Regions from separate parts of the Homo sapiens genome. Here all the other regions are linked to region 1. The links are contacts of gene promoters, found by promoter capture Hi-C in blood cells and fetal thymus (Javierre and others, 2016). All regions are on one chromosome and are shown on one strand. Each heading gives the region's core, a stretch centred on a gene start or on the middle of the fragment in contact. The rest is flanking DNA. Distances are from core to core; before and after follow the strand shown. Region 1 has its middle 29 kb from the start of LINC01133. Region 2 holds the start of VSIG8 (V-set and immunoglobulin domain containing 8). Region 3 holds the start of SLAMF8 (SLAM family member 8).

Region 1 (4,002 bases), core at 761-3,260:
CAGTATATGGCTTGGGTTTCCCTCTGAGAAAAGGATTTGAGTTCAAGTTGTTTTTTGGTTGGTGCAGGAAAATCCTGGTGGGGAGCAGGGAGGAGACACAGGGGTAGAAATGTGGCCCATAGAGGAGGAATTATCCAGCCATCTGCCTCTGTAGGCACTGGGATGTGGTGGGAATATCTGGGGAGTAAAAGCATGCCTCAGAGGGGTTCCACTCCTGAGGTGGCAGAGGGGAGTTATTTATATACAACTCCTGACAGTCACCAGTTGAAGGTTACTGTGTGTGGCGGTGGGTGGTGTCAGGGTGTTAATTCCCTGGCACTTATAGCCTGTCTCAGGCACAGGCAGAAAGGCTGCTTACAGTCTCAGAAAAGGCTGGTAGGCAAAGGAATGCAGACACTGGCATTGGAATTCTTTTGGAAGACACTGAAGTGATGTGGCTCTGAGCATATGGGAGAAGCATGACAGCTTCTGCTATGTACACCTGCTGGGGCTGATTGATCAATTCTGTTCCTTCACAGGTTTCTCATGAGTTTCATCTCTTAACTTTATTACTTTATTCTGTTTCTAAAGCTTAATTTAACATCCCTCTTTTTGACATCTTGAGTTATATGCTTACTTCATATATTCTCATTCTTTCTTATTTGATAATTAAAGCAATTCAGGTTAGTTATGGGGAATCATTGAGAAACCACTTGTAAAAGTGCTTAGCACAGTGTCTGGCAGACAGTAATTGCTCAACAAATGTTCATTACCATTTTCCTCAAACCCTTTGAAGTCACTTCTGTTAAAAGATAAACTTTAGAGAAATTAACATTAGCAGAGCTTAACTGGGCAAATAATGACTTGTGAATCAGGCAGCTTCCCAAACTAGAATAGGATCAGAGTGACTATGGCGCTGCTGTGTGGTGGAGCAATATTTACGAACAGGAAAAGAAAAGTGACTTACAGGAAACAGAAGTGAGGCACAGAAACAGCTGGATTGGTTACAGCTCAGGCATTTAGCTTATTTGAACACAGTTTGAATGGTTGGCAGCCTGTGATTGGCCCAAACTTGATTGGCACAAAAGTAGGCTACAGTCTGTTTATACATCCAGGTAGGTTACAGTTCACGATGTACTGAGAAGCCTTTAGACCGAACTTAAAATAAGTAAGTCTGCAGCTTTAGGCTAAAGTTGATTTTACACTTCTGATTACAGATGTGGATGTCTTCTCTTGATGTTGATATGTGGTATTTTCATTATCATTATTGCCCAAGAGTTCTGTAAATTGCAGTTTTCGTTTCCTGTTTGATCCGTGGATTATTTTGAAGAGTGTTTTCAAACCAAGTAGTTGGACGATTTTTGTTTACACATTTTTTCAATTTCTGGTTTTACTGTATTGTGGTATGCAATGTAGTCATGAAATTTCTGGGCTTGAAATTTATTTAAGGTTTTTAGTGGTTTAATATGTAATCAATTTTAAAAAATTGTTCCATAGACCCTGAAAAAGATTTTTTTTGTTTTTTTTTTCAATATTTACAAAGTGGATCCCAGCAATGACTTTTTTCTGACATTCTACATCTTTTGTTTGTTTACTTGATCTGTTAAGAACTGATGAAATCTCCACAGCAATTGTGTTTTGGTCATTTTCCTCTTATTCAGAAACTAAAGATTTATGACAAACACATCTTCATTGCAGATCTTGATTTTTACTACTTATCCTTTATTTTAATAGTTTAGGACTTTAATTCTTTTTGTATACTATATCTTTTTCTATCTTTTTATTTTTTATTTTTATTTATTTATTTTTGTTTTAGATGTGCCTCTTGTGGACAGTATATGGTTAGATCAAATATGATGATCTTTGTCATTTCATAGAAAAATATAACTTATTTAGATATACTGTGACAACCAATATGTTTGACTTTCTGATGAACTTGTCTGGATTCATTGGAATATATAATAGGAAAAAAAATTTGTTCTTTGTCCTTGGCGCAAAGCTCCTGAAACCTTTGAAATTTCCTGAGCAATAGGAGCATCTTTTGTTATTCATTATGCACCCCTTTCAGCAATCTGTGTTTGTGCTAATGAGGTGACTCTTGGCAGGGTCCCCTAGATCACTTTAAGATGGGAGCTAGTTCTGATCAAGTTCTGATAAAGCTCAGAAGTTTCAGCTCCACCCCCTCCTCATATGGGGAAGGGAGAGGGGCTGGAGATTGAATTTAGTCACCAATGACCAATGATTCCATCAATCATCCCTATGTAATAAAAGCTCCATAAAAACCTTTAAACAATGAGGTTCTGAGTTGGTGAACACGTTCACATACTGGGAGGATGGTGTATCCCAACTCCATGGGGACAGAAGCCCTGTGCTCCGGACCCTCCCGGACCTCATCTTCTGGGCCTGTTCCTTTGGCTCTTCATTTGTATCCTTTATAATAAATCGGTAAATGTAAGTAAAGTGGCCCCTGAGTTCTATGAGTCATTCTAGCAAATTATTGAACCCTGGCAAGGGGTGGGGTGTGGGAAGCCTGACTTTGTAGCCAAGTCAGATGCAAATGTGGGTAGCCTGGAGATCTGATGCTTGTGACTGGCATCAGAAGTGAGGGCAATCCTATGGGACTGTGCCCTTAAGCCTGTGGAGTCTGCCCGCCACTGAGTCTCAGAGTTGAACTGAATTATAGGATACTCAGTTGTTGTAGGAGAATTGGATAATAGGTTGGTGTAGGAAAAAAACACACACTTGGCAAAGATGAAAATCTGTTTTTAGTGTGTGTGTTTGCTAATATTTTAAAAAATATATTTGCTAGTTAGACTATAGGGATTGGACCAGACCAGTTCAGAGATGATTCATGTTGCTTGGGAACAAGCCCTTTATAGCTGCTGCTGCTTTTTGTTTGCAGTAGCTTCTCATGCCCGGGCCCTTCTGCCTGTTTCTCATGAAGGCTGCTGTGCTGCAGAGCCTGTCCAGACCATCCCATGTGGCCTGCTCCTGTGTCCAGCGCTTGTCTCTCAGAGTCTCACTGTGTTGCCCAGGTTGGTCCTTCCTGGGATCAAGGGATCCTCCTGCCTCAGGCTCCCAAATTTCTGGGATTACAGGCACGAACCACTGTGCCTGGTGTATTCCTACAGTATTGTAAAATAACATAGTCCATAGAAATCATGCCCTGTACTGCACTGAAAGAACACTTAGAATTTTCTTTTGCCTAATTCCAAGTCTCAGGTCATTTTAGTGACACAATTTTGCTGTTTTTCGCTCATTATGAATTATTCTTTCTGAGATGGATGGAGATAGAAGATCTGGCTTGAGTCCTTTTGTTGCCATGTTTTACATAGAGGGCCCAAAGAAGCATTCATATTCTTTTGCAGCTACCTCCTGAAAGAGGATTTTCATTTCTCTTGTCAATGGACTATGGGCAGGTTCAATATGGTCTTGGCTAAACTAGATGTCTTAAAGTGTAAAAGAAGCTTCTCCAAAATTTATCACAAATGTCTTATTAATTTAAAAATGCAAACACAAAATCTCAAATAAGGAATTACATTATATGCTTGTTTAACTTAAGCAAACCCAACTATGTATTGAGCAAGGGAACACTGTACTATTATTATTATTATTATTATTATTTTTTGAGATGGAGTCTCTATTGCCCAGGCTGGAGTGCAGTGGCACAATGTTGGCTCACTGCAACCTCTGCCTCCCAGGTTCAAGTGACTTTCCTGCCTCAGCCTCCCAAGTAGCTGGGATTACAGGCATGCACCACCACATCTGGCTAATTTTTGTATTTTTAGTAGAGATGGGGTTTCACCACGTTGGCCAGGCTGGTCTCAAACTCCTGACCTCAAGTGGGAGGTCCACCTTGGCCTCCCAAAGTGCTGGGATTACAGGCATGTGCCAGTGTGCCCGGTGAGCAAGAGAACACTTTAAATAGTAAGAGAATCTCCACCTGCTATTCCATTCAATGAATATACACCACAGAATGAGAGTGAGAAGGAGAGGCAAATCGGCTTTGCCTAAATCTCAGTT
Region 2 (4,271 bases), core at 387-2,886, 130 kb after region 1:
TTCGTGGTCTGACCTGTTTTCCCTCCCACTCACCCTGACCTTCCATGGTTCTTGTTCGTGAGTGGGTCTAGTAATCCACAGGATCACCAAGACCATTTTTTGGACCTCTCTGGACTGACACCCTGGGTACCTGGGTATCCCAGCTTAGGCACCAGCCGCATTGGCTGAATCCCCATGTTTCTCCAGGTCTCTGTTTCCCCATCTGTAAAATGGGGATAATGATCCCTGCTCTTCAAAGGGAGCAGGACAATCCCATAAACCTAAAAATAAATAAGGAAATAAAGATATTCATTGTGTACATCTGGTAGGTCTCAGAGCGCCCTGTTATTGTTGGGAGTTCAGGTGCAACGGCTTGGAATGCAGAGACGCGTGGACTCCTTGTGTTTCCTTAATGTTCTGACTTATTTTTCCCCAGAGGGGTGGGCCCTGGCAGCATCCCTGAGCCCCATAACTCTCCCTAACACTCTTCCTCCTCTGCCCTTTCTGTGCCCCATGGTAGGGATGGGGGCAGTCCCTGACTCCTTTGAGGGAGTTGAGCTATTGAATGGGGTCACTCATGTCCTGACTCCCACCATGGAGTCCAACAAGGCACATGCCCATTCTGTCCCCCTTAGACAAGCCAACAAGGGGTGGCCCTTCACTTGCTCCCCATGCCTACCAGGACCCTCCCCACCCCAGCACGAACTTACCCAGAACTGTGCTGGTTTAGTCAGCCCGATGACCAGTCCAGGTTATGAGGGTCCTTGGTCTCAAGGACCCAGTTAATACTGGGACTGCATTAACCCTCAAGACCTGGCTACTCTTTCTGGGCAGAGAAGCCAGGACACCAAGCGATCCCTCAAGAAGTTCACTCAGAGGGGCTTAGCCATCCTCACAGAGACACCCTGACACAGACATCCTGCCTCCCTCCCACAGACATTGCTGAGGGGTGCACACGCTTACACAGGCACCCCCTTCCCTGGTCCTCTTGGCGCTGTTCTCTCCAACACTCCCTCACTAGCCCATCAGTCACCTTACTCCTAGCACACACCCTGGACCCCCCATAGCACCCCTGCTCCCAGGGGTCCCCTACACTTGGGGATGGCCTTGAGTCGAGTATGGGTGTGGAGGACAGTTCCAGAGGGGACAGCCAGGAGGAGACTCTGTTCCTGCACACACCCCTTCTCTCCTCTTTCAGCTCAGGAGGCCTGAGTCCCTTTGAAAGGCCTGAAGCCTGGGGGAAGGTGGGCTGGACACTCCTGGGGAACCCTATGCCCTGGGATCAGGATTAACTCTTCAGGTCCTGGCCACTCTTTCTCCCAAGCCTGGCTTCTCCTTCCTCTTCCCCACTTCCCCCAGGGAAGGAGGCAGCAAATGAGTGGTGAGGGGAGCCCTTGGAAGCTGTAAATGAGGTGACTGTTGTCACCCTGAGGATGTGGCCAGGAGGAAGTGAAGTTTAACAGGTGCCTAATTACAAGTCCCGCTGGCTGTCCTGTGCCACTCTTAGGACAGGGAAGAGCTTGGGTGAGGGCTGGGTAATGCCCAGGTAGGCCACCCTGTCACCCTGCTAATTAGGGTTCCTGGGACTCCTCCCCAAGGCGGGGACCAGGCCCCCTCCCTCCCATAGAAATAACTCCAGCTGCTCCCCAGCTGGGCACTCATTGCACCTTCCTGCCACCCCAGGCAGTGTCTGGGCCCTCAGCTCCCCCTCCCTCCACCTACCCCCTCACACCCACCACTACGACCCCACGGGATACCCAGCCCAGACGGAGGAAACACCGAGCCTAGAGACATGAGAGTTGGAGGAGCATTCCACCTTCTACTCGTGTGCCTGAGCCCAGGTACGGGGCTGGGCAGGGGGCAGGGTAGCCAGCATGAGGCTAGGTGGGAAGGAAAGGGGCAGCAAGGGCTCACAGTGGAGCCTGGGGCTGCCTGAGTTGCCTGGCAGGGTGCTGCCCACCCTTGCCCTGCTGCAGCCGGGTGTGGGTATTACCAGGGGACCTTTCCCCAGGAGACCCTGTGCCTGATGTTCAGGGTGTGTGTCTGTAGTGCAGAGGTCTTTGAGTGGATCTTTATATGTCCCCTGTCGGGCTCACACATGTGTGCAGGTGCCCTGCAAGCTCATGCCGTGACTAGGAGGAGAGGGATTGATTGCTCTGCAGGAGCTGGAGGTGGGGTAGGAGAGGGGTAAGCACGGGCATTGGGTGAGGGCTCAGGAGGAGCTTGGGAAGGATCAATTTTCATCAGACTGTGTGCTATTCCCAACGCTACTCCTTCTCTCCCAAGGCCAGGGCCAAGGGGCAGGGAAGTCACTTGCCTTGAAAGGGCAAGAGACTAAGTCTGGTGTAAGTCTGAGTGGTTTCTTCCATCATGGCCAGTGACAGCTCAGGCCTGAGACCTCAGCCTTGGGCCCCCTGTGCTATGACAGGGCAGTGCCCCACTCTAGGATGAGGCCTGAGGGTGGTGGGGATGGCAACTCCAGAGACTTCTCACCCCACCAGGACAGGTCCACAGGGCAGGGCTCAAGTTTGGACATTGTGGCTTCCTGCCCAGGTTGGGGCAAGTTCCACCAAGGGGCATTCTATGCCAACATCACTGGAAAGGGCTCCGAGTCCCTCTTGCAGTCTGGATTTGGGATGAAGGGGCATGAAGGAGGAATTTGGGAAGGCGGGGTGACATTTTCAGCCTTTGTGTGAGCGTGAATGTGTATGTGAGTGTGTGGGTGCGTGCACCTGCATGGGAATGATGACATTTCCGGCAGGATAGCTGCAGCCCTTCTCTGTCTGATGAGAGCAGGGCTGGCAGAGTCCACTCGGGAGGCTCCAGCTGTGCTGTGGGGACCCGGACTTCCCCCTGTGTGGTGTGTCAATGGGTGTGTGAGGACAACTCAGCACTGGCTGCATTAACGCATCAATACCCTCAGCTGGAGCCGCCTTTTCTCCCCTCCCTTACCTCCAGAGGGAAGATCAGGAGTTCTGGAAGCACCTTGAAGATTCAGAAAGAATTTGCAAGCAGAGAGTAGGCACCACTATTGAGATGACACCCCGTAAAGCATGGCCAGTTTCTGGTGCTTTTGGGGGGCAAAGAATCACCACTGTCCTCTTCCTTGGAGAGCCCATGTGATTCCTCCATTCCTGTCTCTCCTCAAGTCTCCCATCCAGCTCTCTCTTCCACTTTGCCTTTCTTCCCTCTCTCCAGCCTCTCCTCTCACATTCCCTGTAGTACTTCCTTAGTGCTACAGCAAGAGGAATCAAGGTGAGACATTAGGAGCAACTTCCCAAGGAGAGGGAGGGGTGCGGAAAGGCTGGAACCCTTGGGAGGAGGTTGAGAAGACTTCTAAGGAGATAGAAAAGCTGGGTGAGGCTCCCTGGTCTGGGACAATTGAAGAATCTCTCAGCCTGGTGCAGGGTGGAGGTGCTTTTCTTGCAGCCTGTCGCTCCTTCCCAAGCCCCTCTCCCTGAATGCTTACCATCCTGCCTGGCAGGCTCCTATGGCATGGAGAGAGTCCTTCCTGTGTGGGTGCTTCCAGCGGTGCTTCTCCAGGGTGGAGCCTCTGCTCTCAGCCGAGTTCTGGCTCATCCCTGGCTTGCCTTGAGCAGCCTCAGGATCTGGCAGATGGCAGCAGGATCCTTATCTCAGGAATGAGCTGTTGTTCTCTTGGCCTGGAGCTGGAAGAGGCATCACTAGGTCCCGTTAGAGCCCCAGCAGTCAGCCTGCCTGCTCTGGGTCACCTTGGAGTCTAGCTGGGTTATGACAGAGCTGATGGCCCAGCCAGTGTTCCTAGGGGGGATGTTCAGGGATCCCTGAGCTGTTGAGGGTGTTGAAAGGGCCCTTGCTGGCCTCTCTGGAGCCAGGCTAAGCCTTCCTGGCAGGGCTTCCATAGATATGTCTGGTCTTGAATGAACACATACAGGGACTATATGAACACACGGTGGGTGTGTCTTTTGAATTAATATGTTCTGTGTTTGTGTGCAGATTGTGTCTGTGTCTGAATGAATCTATATAGTGTCTGTGTTTGTAGGAAGGTGGGGCCATATAGGTATGTATCTGCATTTTGAAGCCTTGTAAGAGTGGGCCACGTGCCGATTTGTTTGCCTGTGATGGTGTAATTGTGTGTGTGCATGTGTGAGATCTCTATGTGTAAACATGGTCCTGAGCCACATGATAGAACAGAATGATTGCTGAGACCTGGGGCTGTGACTCCAGAAGACATGTTGACTCAAAAAAGAACGCAGACGGAGAGTGTGTGAGGCCTGGTGAGGGGCCTGCAGAGGCAGGGTTGCTGGAGACTG
Region 3 (4,224 bases), core at 1,378-3,877, 160 kb after region 1:
CAGCCAGGCCAAGCCGAGGGCGGCCTGGAGCAGGATAGGGAAGTGTCACCGGCAGAGGGCACAGTACTGACAAAGGCCTGGAGGGGGAGAGTTGGTGCCCAGGGGAACTGAGAGTAGTTCTCTGTGTGAGGAGTAGGAAATTACACTGCAGAGTTGGTAGGAGTCAGATCATGCAGAGACCTGAAAGCAATACTGGAGTTTGGGCTTTATCTGTAGAGCAATGGGGCGTCTCAGGTAGGTTTTAAGCAGGAGCGTAACAGGATTAGATGCATGGTTAGAAAGATCACTCCAGCAGGGATGTGGAGAATGCACTGGAGGTGGGCAGGACTTAGGCTGTTCATGTTAGTCCAGTGGAGAAGTGACGGCAACTTGAATTGAGGAAGGGAGCAACCGGGATGGGAAGAAGTGGGAGGAATTGAGAAACACGAAGATGGTGTGTAATCAGTAGGATTTGGTAATAGATTAGCTCTGGGGAGTGAAGGAGAAAAAGGAGTCGAGGACGGCTCCCAGGTCCTTGGGATCCACTGGATGTTATTCTCTGTGATCCAGAACAGGAGGAGAAACAGACAGGGGGTGAGAAAGCAAGATGCTGTTTTGGGGGACTATATTTGAGTCAGACGTGTATGGGAGACGCTTCTCCTTGAAGTGCCCCCCTGACTCCTTTGCTGACTAATTTCTGCCCACTCTTGTAGCATCACTGCCTCCTCCGACCTCCCCTATCCCTCATAGGTAATGTAACCAAGAGAGGTTACATATTCTCTCTTGTGTTCTCACAGTGGCCTGGGGCCACCATGCTGACTACCCTTATCCCTCTATTCTTATTGCCTGTTTATGAGTCAGCATCTCCCACTAGACCGTGAGCTCTTTCTCCCCATCGTTTGCTTCCAGTGCCCACCACTGTTTAAGAACAGACTGTGGGAGAAGCCTAGTAAATGGTATTGAATAAATGACCTACCCTGCTGAGGACTGACCCTATGCCTGTCGCTGGCACAGGGTGTAGGGAAGAATAAGAGGTGATGAAGTTTTGGTCAATGAGACATGATCTGGATGGTTGCTCAGTCGGCCATGATAATTCCGGTCCCCCTCTGCCTCACTGTCCTCCAGGCCCAACAACCTCCTCTCACACTGGAGATGACTTCAGTGTTAATGCAGAGCAGGAATGTAACACACAAAGAGAATTGCACTGGATGTCAGCCAAGACCTAGCTGCTCCTACCTGCTCCTCCTGGTGCTGCCACAGATCAGCTGTGTGCCCTTCCACACATCACCCTGCCCCAGGCTTCAGTACCACTGAAAAATAAGGGGTCTGTACCAGGTCAGTCACACAGATCTTTGATCATTAAGGGCCATTTGAAAAATTATTTTTGGGCTGGGTGTGGTGGCTCATGCCTGTAATTCCAGCACTTTGGGAGGCTGAGGAGGGCGGATCACTTGAGGTCAGGAGTTTGAGACCAGCCTGGTCAACATGATGAAACCCTGTCTCTACTAAAAATACAAACATTAGCCGGGTTTAGTGGCAGTGACCTGTAATCCCAGCTACTCAGGAGGCTGAGACAGGAGAATCGCTTGAACCCAGGAGGCAGAGGTTACAGTGAGCTGAGATGCACCATTGCATTCCAGCCTGGGTGACAGAGCAAGACTCCGTCTCAAAGAAAAAAAAAAAAGGCAAATTATTTTTGTCTCACCAAACAGACCAAGGCCTTTTTTGAGGTTAAGGTGTGATTTCCTGCACATGTTTAGAAATATTGAAGAAATCTGCAGGCTTTGGAGCTCTCAGGGCCAGGAACTCAGGCAAGGAGATGAAACAAAGCAACCCAAAGTCCCTATGAGCCTCTGATGTAAACAATATCATCTTAATCTTTGCTGCACCCCATAAACCCTCATCCATGGCCCGGCAGTGTTGACCCATGTCATGTTGGCTGCTTGTTGACCAAGGAAGGGAACTCAGGCATCAGATGGATAGAGGGATCGCCCGGTGTGGAGGAGACCCCGTGTATCAGCCATCCCAACATCACACCACCGTCGGCCACCCCTAAGTCCACGTGGGCCACATTTAGCCTCTCTCATCCCTACTTAGTACTTGCCTCCCCTTATAAAGGCCTGTAGGGAGGGACCTCAGCTCCCCCACAGGCTGTTGAAAACACACTCTGCTGATTGTGGGGAACCCTGCTCTGCCCTGCCCTCTGCTACTCTCCTCAAACTCTGCAGAGTTTCTGCATGCTAACACTGCCGGGTCCTCACCATTCTCACAGCCGACTTTCTCTCCAAACCAGCAGTATCACCCACTGGCTCCGTTTTTACTGCTCTGGGCCACAAAACAGCTCATGTCTCACAGATAAGAATACCCCTCAAGCTGCCACCTCCTCCCTCCCAGGACCCTGCATCTCTTTGTATCTGCCTAGCTTAAAATGTTGCCCAAGAGCTTGTTCTAGTCTTTCCTACCCACCCTCAGCTTCTGGGTTCTCACCCAGGTCGAGGGATCCCTGCCCAGACGTCTGGCATAGGCAGCTGGGGAGGGGCCTTCAGCTCTCCGAGGACAGGCTATCTGCCTGCCCCACTTACCTTCCCAGAGAAGCAGACTCCACAGGGGCCTCATGACCATCTTTCTCTGGAGAGGCAGGCAAACTCCCTCGACAGCCAAAATCCAGAACCTCCCAGGCCGAGTGGATGCACGGGAGGAGCTGTGGTCCTTCTGGAAAGTCCCATGTTCAGAAGGAGGAATCTTGACTCAGAACAGGATGTCCCAAAAGTGAAAACATCCAGAATAAAGTGGAAGTTGTCCCTGGGCCTCTCTGGGCTTACAGGAGCAGATTCTTGTAAGTCAGCCTCTTTCACATGCACATGGTTGGCTAACACGTGGCGACAACAGCCCCCACACAAGCCACATCCTCCTTGCTGGATCTCGCTGGCCTTCCTGCATCTCAGCCTGCCTCACTACTATCTGTCATCCTCATTCTAGCTTAAAATGCTTCTGTGGCCTCCCGTGGACCTGAGGATGAGGACTAACTCTGCTCTGCATGCAGGCCCTCCTGAGTCAGGCCTTCTTCTCCAGGCTGGTCGCCCACAGTCATTCTGCCCTCCAGCCATCCCAAGCCAGAAGGCCTCCTTCTCAGAACTACTGATTTCACACTTCCCTGTGTTGTACTTTCCCCACCACCCCGACTAGGCATGCTGCTCCCTCTATCCTTGCAAACAGAACATGGCTGTGCAGTCGGCGAGGACATCCTTCCAGGCTTCCTGACCACAGGCAGGTGAGAGGCCCTCTCCTTGTGTCCTGTGCATGCCCACACCTCCCTCTTTACTCTTGCTGTGTTGTTGATGACAGTTTTCTGGTTTTCACAGACTGTTTAGCCAGTCTTTTGTTCCCTTCTGTGTTGCCCTCAGTGCTTGGCACATTACAGATGTTTCATGAGTATTTGTTAAGTGAGTGAGTACATTCTAGACATGGCTACACATCTGGCTTTATGTAAGCCTTGCAACTCTCCTCTGAGAGGATCATCTTGTTACCTGGTTAGAAATGGGAAAATGTGAAAACCAGAGTGAGGTTAGGCCCCTTGCAGAGCTCACAGAGAGGCAGAGCTGGAACTTGAACCTCAGCCTTTGAAGTGTGGTCTATTTTGCCACAGTTATCCCCTCCTCATCCTGTTTCTCTTCTCACTTCAAGTTTCTTGGTTTCTTGCCAGTGAAGGTTTTTAGAGGACGTGTTGCCCCTGAGGAAAATTCCTGCTAGTCTGGAGTGTGGCTCATCGTATCTGGTCCTGCACAGCCTCTCGCCTGTCAATCAAACTGGACACTGAGCTTTGGACTCAGCCAGGAACTAGGCATATAGGATGGGGTGGGGGTGGGTGGTGAGCAGGAGGATTTTGGGATAAGGTTTTTGCCCTCCAGGTACTCACAACCAAAATGTAGAGATAGGTACACCAAGGAAAGTGAAGGGTTATCTGCAGACAGACACCACTTTGTGCAAACAGGTAGTCAGTCCTCAGAAGTGGGTGGGAAAGAGGGCTTCGCGGATCTGGGCAGGGGACGCTTCTTGAGAAGGTGGAATTTGAGCTGTGCCTTGAAGATGGGCATGGTTTAGATAATATGAGGAAAGGAGAGAGCCAGAGGTTGGGGGTGGGCTCTGGGCAGGAGGGGAGAGCAGAGCGTGCAGGGATGTGGCTGTGGGAAAATACCAAGTAGGCTCCACAGAGGACAAGGGACAGCAGACAGGAATCCTTTAGGG

The links. Contacts are between HindIII fragments. The CHiCAGO score rates a contact against its expected background, and 5 or more counts as called.
Region 2: the fragment with the promoter of VSIG8 here is called in contact with a fragment that was not itself captured in region 1 in 1 of 17 cell types (total B cells); the score reaches 6.0 in total B cells.
Region 3: the fragment with the promoter of SLAMF8 here is called in contact with a fragment that was not itself captured in region 1 in 2 of 17 cell types (total B cells and naive B cells); the score reaches 7.7 in total B cells.

Annotation. Positions count from the first base shown.
Region 1 is chr1:159,988,694-159,992,695 of GRCh38, reverse strand. No RefSeq gene overlaps it. Among named protein-coding and RNA genes, the nearest start is that of LINC01133, 29 kb to the right of the region's middle. The HindIII fragment of the contact is 2,876 bases long and covers 573-3,448 here.
Region 2 is chr1:159,860,022-159,864,292 of GRCh38, reverse strand. It overlaps VSIG8 (V-set and immunoglobulin domain containing 8), which reads left to right and starts at 1,636. Exons shown (of 7, transcript NM_001013661.1): 1 at 1,636-1,820. The coding sequence starts at 1,772. LOC107985216 (a long non-coding RNA gene) reads right to left here. Exons shown (of 2, transcript XR_001738263.2): 2 at 1-3,647. RefSeq lists enhancers at 1,308-2,220, 2,221-3,135. The HindIII fragment of the contact is 16,901 bases long and covers 1-4,271 here.
Region 3 is chr1:159,825,276-159,829,499 of GRCh38, reverse strand. It overlaps SLAMF8 (SLAM family member 8), which reads right to left and starts at 2,627. Exons shown (of 5, transcript NM_020125.3): 1 at 2,562-2,627. The coding sequence starts at 2,601. The HindIII fragment of the contact is 24,464 bases long and covers 1-4,224 here.